2 separate regions of the Homo sapiens genome follow, and region 1 is linked to region 2. Evidence: promoter capture Hi-C in human tissues and cell types (Jung and others, 2019). All regions are on one chromosome and are shown on one strand. The core of a region is centred on a gene start or on the middle of the fragment in contact, and the rest is flanking DNA. Distances in the headings are between cores, read along the strand shown. Region 1 has its middle 9.6 kb from the start of ACER3. Region 2 holds the start of LRRC32 (leucine rich repeat containing 32).

Evidence for each region. The method cuts DNA at HindIII sites, captures the fragments that hold promoters and counts their contacts. A contact is called where the count stands out against the background at its distance.
Region 1: a contact is called between a fragment that was not itself captured here and the fragment with the promoter of LRRC32 in region 2, in 1 of the 25 tissues and cell types used here (stomach).

What each region holds. Positions count from the first base shown.
Region 1 is chr11:76,849,506-76,853,052 of GRCh38, forward strand. No RefSeq gene overlaps it. Among named protein-coding and RNA genes, the nearest start is that of ACER3, 9.6 kb to the right of the region's middle. The HindIII fragment of the contact is 4,177 bases long and covers 1-3,547 here.
Region 2 is chr11:76,669,015-76,673,026 of GRCh38, forward strand. It overlaps LRRC32 (leucine rich repeat containing 32), which reads right to left and starts at 1,733. Exons shown (of 3, transcript NM_001128922.2): 1 at 1,600-1,733. RefSeq lists silencers at 1,488-1,617, 1,678-1,877, 3,610-3,849. The HindIII fragment of the contact is 10,955 bases long and covers 1-4,012 here.

The sequences.
Region 1 (3,547 bases), core at 532-3,031, 180 kb after region 2:
GGCCCTGGACTGTCTACTGCCTGAGAAAAACAAACCCTTCTTTGGTTAAGGCACTGGAACTAATTTTCTGTCGCCTGCAGCAAAACATGATCCTAACTGATTGAAGAGCCGAAGCTGTGGAAACTGATCTGGGTTAGAGATAGAGATTTGGGTCAGCCTCTAGACTGTAACAGTGCTAGGGTAGATACAAGAAAACCAGACATCCACCTATGCACAGATAGAAATTATGAGTTAAAGAAAAGAGAGGGCTTGGCTTATAGGCAATGCGGAAAGGAAGGAATTCCTGTTCACAGGGCAAGCATCTTTAGGGTACTTTAAAAATTGTTGATGTTTCCATAACCTCATTCAAAACAAAACAATCAAATTAGAGCTATTCAATTAATACTCAACTTCATCAAATTTATTTTGTAACAGCTTTCCAGGTGGAAACAGGCTGTTGACTCTGTTCGTGTGTGTGGTGACTTACCTCCCAGGGTGTGGCGTATTTTGGGCTCAGGAGCTCACTTGGTAAACTTCAGCTCTTCTCTATCTTCCACCAAGCAAGGAACTCTGAAGTTCTCTCCTGGAAATTTGGGACAAGGACTGTCCAGGACCTATGTTGCAGTTTAATCTGACTGTCCTATCCTTTGCCAAGATTATTTGCCACAGCCTTCTAACTGATTTTCCTGATCCCTCGCCTCCTCCTTACCCTGCCCTACTACAAAAAATCCCCACATCAAAAACTTATTTCTTCTAACACGTGGATTTAAACATGTTATTCCCTTTCTTGAACACTAAGATAAACCCTAAATGCGTTATCACAGCATATTGGGCCCCACCCTTTGCATCTCTAGTCTCTGATATTTGTCCTCACTCCTCCCTCATGTCTGCACACAAGTTCAGCCACTCCGAATGTCTCATTCTGCCTGTTTTTCTCTTGCCCTTTCAAGCCCTTACAGTCTGTTTCTTGCCCAGAAATGCTTTCTCTGCCTTCTGCTCTGACCAACCACCCACAACAATCTACTACAGCCAGATTAATTTTCTGGTTTTCCTAGCAGCTAGGAATGGCTGGAAACCTACCACTTTCTTCTCCTTCAACCCTTCCCCACAGGTCTGTCTCCAATTCCTGTTGATTCTACCCTCTAAACATCGGTGAATTTGTCCTCTCCTCTCCATCACTATTGCTACTCACCCTATCACTGCAATAGTCTCTTCTGCAGGCTCCATGTCTTCAGTCTTTCCCAATTCAGTCAATCTGTCCTCCCTTCTGCATACATACCCATATCAAGATCTTACTTAAAACCCTGTAGGCCCTTGATGGCATTGTCCCTGCAGACCTCATAAGCCTCATTGCCTACACTTCAGCTAAAAAGTAAAACCAAACACAGTGCTGGCCTCTAAGGAGACCTCTAGTTCTCTCTGTCCAGCACAGCCCTTTCTTCCAAGCTCACACAGCCAGCTTGGCACAGCAGAGAAGAACATGGCCTCTGGCACCAGACTGCCTGGATTCCAGCCTAGGCTCAGCTGCTTATGATCTGGCTGCCATTGGGTGAAATACCTAACCTCACTGTGTCAGTTTCATCATCTGTAAACAAGGGCTAAAAGTAGTACTTAATTCACAGGATTGTTAGAAAGATTTTAAAAGGTAATCCCGGGCCGGGCGCAGTGTCTCACGCCTATAATCCCAGCATTTTGGGAGGTCGAGGCGAGTGGATCACCTGAGTTCAGGAGTTCCAGACCAAACTGTCCAATATGGCAAAACCTCATCTCTACTAAAAATACAAAACTTAGCCGGGCATGGTGGTGCACGCCTATAATCCCAGCTATTTGGGAGGCTGAGGCAGAAGAATTGCTTGAACCCGGAGACAGAGGTTGCAGTGAGCCAAGATCACACCATTGCACTCCAGCCTGGGCAACAGAGTGAGACTCAGTCTCAAGAAAACCCCATTTTGACCTTGGAGATTTGTCTGTTTTTCCTCTTCTAGTGCCCAGAATAGTGCCTGACACACAGCTGGGATTCCTTAAATATTTATTAGAAAGTGAATTTACTAACTTGCTTTGTGTGTTTTGTCATATTTCATTTATTACCAGGTCAAAATTGGGAATACTCTGTATTCCCAACACTAAGCTTGCTTGATAATAGATGTTCAATTCATTTTGCAGATTCCCATGTAAACTGGCTTTTACTTATTCAAGTTTTGCAAAGATGTAATGTAACTAGAGGAGACTCCAATCAGGAGAAAATGGGAGAGAACATAGGGGCACTGGCAGGAGACATGGCAGGTGGCCTGCGGCCGAGGTATAGAAGGTAATAGAAGAGGTCTGCAAGGGGAAATCCTGGGAGACAAGGGGCCCAGGAAGTCTAGCTTGCTCAAGGAGCTTGAAATTGACTTTTGTTCTGTGTAATCCAAGTTTCTTCTGAGTTTAGAAAATAAGTCTTATGAGAGAATCAGGCCTTATGAGAAAATCAGGCCCTAGCACTAACACTGCCTGGAGAGTGGGGCTTGGGGTCCAGCTGCTGGGGTCTAATGCCTTCCTGAGATCATCAGGATGGCATCAGAGTAGAGCCTCAAAGTCTGGAATTGGGAGTGATGGTTAGTCTAATAATGTTTCTGGAAGCATAAGCATCAGCAGGTACATACAACATTTATTTTTCAATACTTATCACGCATTTTAAGTAAAAACAGAAAGCTCCAAAATGATTTGTATTTTATAACTATTTTAATAAAACATGTATATGTATGAAAAATATCTGGCTAGTTATACACCAAAATATTATCAGTGTTTACTAAATGATGAAATTCCAGGTGATTCTTGATTCCTTTTTCTTTCTTTCTTTTTTCTTTTTGAGATGGAGTCTTGCTCTGTTGCCCAGGCTGGAGTGCAGTGGTGCGATCTCGGTTCACTGAAACCTCCACCTCCCGGGTTCAAGTGATCCTCTGCCTCAGCCTCCCGAGTAGCTGGGATTACAGGAGCCCACCACCACGCCTGGCTAATTTTTGTATTTTTAGTAGAGATGGGGTTTCACCATGTTTGCCAGGCTGGTCTTGAACTCCTGACCTCAGATGGTCCACCCGCCTCGGCCTCCCGAAGTGCTGAGATTACAAGCATGAGCCACTGCTCTTTGAAAGAGCTGCTTCCTCTTTCTCTCTTTCTTTCTTTCTTTCTCTTTTTCTCTCTCTCTCTCTTTTTCTTTCTCTCTTTCTTTCTTTTTGACAGGATCTTGCTCTTGCTCTGTTGCCCAGGCTGGAGTGCAGTCGTGTGATTATAGCTCATTGCAGCCTCGAACACCCAGTCTCAAGATGTCCTCCCACCTCATTCTCTCAAGTAGCTAGAAGTATAAGCCTGTGCCACCACACCTGACTGATTTTTAATTGTTTTGTAGAGGTGGGGTTTTACTATGTTGCCCAGGCTGATTTTGAACTCCTGGCCTCAAGCAATTGTCTCACCTTTGCCTCCCAAAGCACAGAGATTACAGGAATCAGCCACTGTGCCCAGCCTCAGGTGATTCTTTATATATTTTTTCATTGTGGATTTTTTTTTGAATAAATATATTTTCAGTGTGAAA
Region 2 (4,012 bases), core at 483-2,982:
ATCCAAAGCCCACCACTCACCAGCTCTGCTCCCTAAGGTAAGTCCCTTCCTTTCTTGGTGCCCCAGTGTCCTGTCTGCAGGGTAGGCAGCTGGGTTCCAGTTCTGCCACTGGCCAACCCCAACTATTGTGATGATCAGGCAAAGAATGGTGGCGAAGGTGCCCTGCATCCTCACTGTCCTTCCCAGCTGACACAGTGACCCTCGCAGGGCTGAGCATCCCAGGTGAGGTGTGCTCAGTGGGGAGGCCCCAAGCCTGCAGACAAGTGGCCTGGGCAAGAGGAGGCAGGAGAGTCGGACTCTCAGGAGTCCAACTCAGAAAAGTGCCAAAGAATGTGTGTGTGTGTGTGTGTGTGTGTGTGTGTGTGTGTGTGTGAGAGAGAGAGAGAGAGTGAGAGAGAAAGAGCAGGGGTACGGGGGGCAATGACTACTACCACAATAAGCCCACCCCTACATTTAAGGATGTTAGTCTTCTAAGCACTTGACCTATATCATCTCATTTAATTCTCACAATCACCTATTGAGGAAATTACTGTAATTCCCATTTTACGGATGAGAAAACAGTTTCCGGAAAGTGAAGTGACTTACCCCCAGAGTTACCCAGCTCATAAGGGCTTTGGAGCTGGGATTTATCCAGTTCTACATGACCTGAATACTGTGTTTTCTCCAGCACATGCTGAGCCGACTGCCCCCAATAGAACTGTCTTTTTTTTGCCCATGAAGAAAAGGAGGCTCAGAGAAGTGACTTACCCAAAGTCACACAAGGAGAAAATAGCAGGGTCACGATCAGAATCCAGTTCATCTGTCTCCAAAGCAAATGTTCCCACTATACCAAATCAAGGTCTCCTTCCCTAAGCCCTGCCAACGACCCCTCACACGCAGGAGCAGGGCAGACTAGCTCACAGTCTGGCCTCTGAGGTCCTCTCTCCCTCCTCTCGGCCTCAGCTGACTTACTGGCAGAGTGGGGTCCTGGGAGAGCTGCTGCGGACGTTCCTGTCAAGCAGTGAATCACTAAGGGCAAGCCTCGTTCTGGAGACATGTGCATCCCACGGGGGAATTAGACCTTAACCCAAAGGAATGTGGCTGTGATGGCGGAATTTCAGGCAGCTCGGCGTGGGGGTGGGGGCCCCTCACATCTTACCACCCATGAAGAAGGCTGGGTTCAGAGCCCCTTGGAGAGCGGTGGGTGCCCCCTACCCCACTACGAGAAATGGGCAGGCCATCTAGTGCTGTGGGATGGGCAGCCCCACGCCTGGCTGGGATCGGAGCGTTGCAGGAAACCTGAATTCAAATTCCGGTTTGCCCTTGCCTAGCTGTGTGTTCCTGGGCAAGTCACGGTCTTCAGGCCATTGTTTTCCCAGCTGTCAAATGGGAAGGCCGGCCTCACCCCTTTGCGGGAAAGATCCGCCAAGACAGGAGCGCTGGGGAACTCCCAGGGACCGAGGGAGGGTCAGCCCCGGCTCCACGCGCGCAGTGGGGATGGCGGGAGGGGAGTGTTTGGGGGGCGTCCCTTGGGACCAGCCCCCGCCTTGCGCTCGCTAGAGGCGCGCGACAGTGCGCCCCCCGAGGGCCGGCCAGCCTCGCCTGCCCGGCGGCTCCTACCTGGCTCAGCGCGGCCGCAGCTCCTCTCCCGGGCAGTCTCGGCACATTTTGCGCAAACCCGCCCCCGGGTCCCACCCCGCGCCAGACCCCGGGGTCACGGCCCGAGGAGGAGCAGGCCGCTCAGCTGCCCCACCGGAGCCCCCGCGCTCCGGCTGCAATTTAAATACCTCTCCCGCCGGCCCGCCCCGCCACGCCCCCCTCTGGCGAGGCCGTGGGGTCCTAGCGCCTGGCCCCGTGCCTCGGTTTATCCGGAGCCGGCGGGGGCGGAGTGGGGTGGGGCGGCGAAGCATCTTCACCACCCTGGGACCTCGGCCGGGAAGGGGCGGGGGCCCAGTGTGGGGGGATGAGAGGGCGGGAGGGAGAGGGGTTGCAGAGGAAGCGCCGTGGGAGCGAGGCCCATCCCAGCGGCCGCCGCACGTGCAGTTCGCGGCCCCGCGGGGTCCGGAGGGGGGCGCGGTGGCTCTAGGAGCCGCAGGTCCACAGAGGAAATCCGGCCTGGCCCCGATTTCCCAGCTGCTGGCGCCGCCGCACTTAACGCGGGGGCAAACAGGCGAGGTGACGGCGGGGCTGAATGCGGAAGGAAATGACCCTTCGCTGGCCCTGGGGCGGCCGCGGAGGGGGTTCCCCGCACCAAGCCGTCCACTCTGGTGGGTCCTGGCAGGTCACTTTTCCTCTCCGGATTGTGCTCTAGTGTCTGGACCCGTACTCCTCCATCATCTGCGGGACCCTTCAACAGCCTGTGAAACGGCACCATCAAAGTCCTGTTTTCGGATGGAGAAGCTGAGGCTAGGGGTGGGGGCAGTGTGTACACATGAAAACCAATTGTCTGAGACTAGTAAGGTCCCTATTTATAGCTGGGGAACCTGAGGCTCAGAAAAGGTTAAATGGCGTGTCCAAAGTCAACACAGCTAATAAGAATCAGTGATTTGAGCCCAATCTGTTCATAAAGCTAAGTCTGATTCAGTTTGGGCATTATCTTGCCCGAATTTTTAAAGTACTGTGCAAATATGGGGTGGCGGTATTGTCATTTAGATTGGAGGTTGAAGCAGATCTTTCCCAAAGCCACCTCTCTTCTAGATGCCTTGACCCTACCAAATCACAGGTACCCTGCCTTGCTGCCTGTGGACTCTAGTATGCGGGTCCCTAGAAGAGAGGGGCCCTGGCTGTCCTCCAGGTCCTGGTTCCAAGTGTAGAAGGGGCCTCTTCCACAGTGTTTCTCTTCCCTGATCGTCACCAGCCCTGAGAGTGGGGCAGGGTGCCCCATTTTACATGCATGAAAGTGACCACCCAGGGCCTTGTGGCAAATCAGGGTAAGGCTGGGCTCAGAAGCGGGATTCCCTGAAGTCTCTACAGTTACTGCCTTTTCTTACCCCTGTTCAGTCCACTGTGGAGATGGATCTGGGGAGATGGGGTCAACCCAGAGAGGACAAGCCATGATAGCAGGTGCCATAGGGGCCTGACCTAGTCTTAGAAGAGGAAATCAGGGAAGGCTTCCCTAAGGAGGAGGCCTGAGCTGCAGTGAGGGGATGGGCAGGAGGTGCAGGTAAGGAATCTCTCAGCAGGGCCTGCGAAGGGTATCCAAACCTCTTTCCCTTCCCTCCCAGCCACCCAAGGCCTCAGATCTATGTCCACAGGGTCCTAGCTGGTCCATCCAGCCCCCTCTCTGGTCTCTAGTGCTCCATTTGGTCAAATGGAACCTCAGTGCCCCTATCTGTAAAGTGGGAAAGATAGTAGCTACTACTTGGAGTTGGTGCTAGAACTAAGTGCAATGGATCCAGCTGGAGCCTGCACCCAGTGGTTGTTAGGCAACTTCTCACTGCCTTTATTGTGGCAGTTGGTGGATACTCCTATATCCTGTGGGCTTCCTTTTCCAGGTCCCTGTCCAAGGGGCCAAATGTTCAGGAAAGTGCTTTGAAGCTGCCCTGCAGTATGAGCAGAGTGACTGGATCATTCGGGCAGTTCCTGGCCTTGTGTATCAGACCAGCTCCCAGCCATCCAGACCCAGGCTCGCTGAGCACTGCCTCACCCTTCCCGGAGCTGCTACCAAGCAGAAATCACTGGGCCATGGCAGAGCTTCTGCTAGGGCCCAGGAGGGCGGGGCTGGGGCTATGGTGGGCTGGGGGTGAGTGCCCCACCTCCCACTCCCCCGCCCCCAGAGGCTGTGGTTGTGGTTAGTCAGCTCGTGGGGTTCCACCTTACTCAGTGCCCGGATGGGGCTCCCCCACATTTGAGGCAGATGGGCAACCAAGCGTGCCCACCTGCTGCAGATGCCTCTGGGGACCAGGGGCTAAAAGCCGGGAAGCCCACAGGCTCAGCGCCCCTTCCTTCATCTCTTCACTTCTTTGGCAGTCATGTTGTTGTGTGACTTTTGGCAGGTTGCTCAGCCTTCCTGACCTTGGTTTGCTGACCTGCA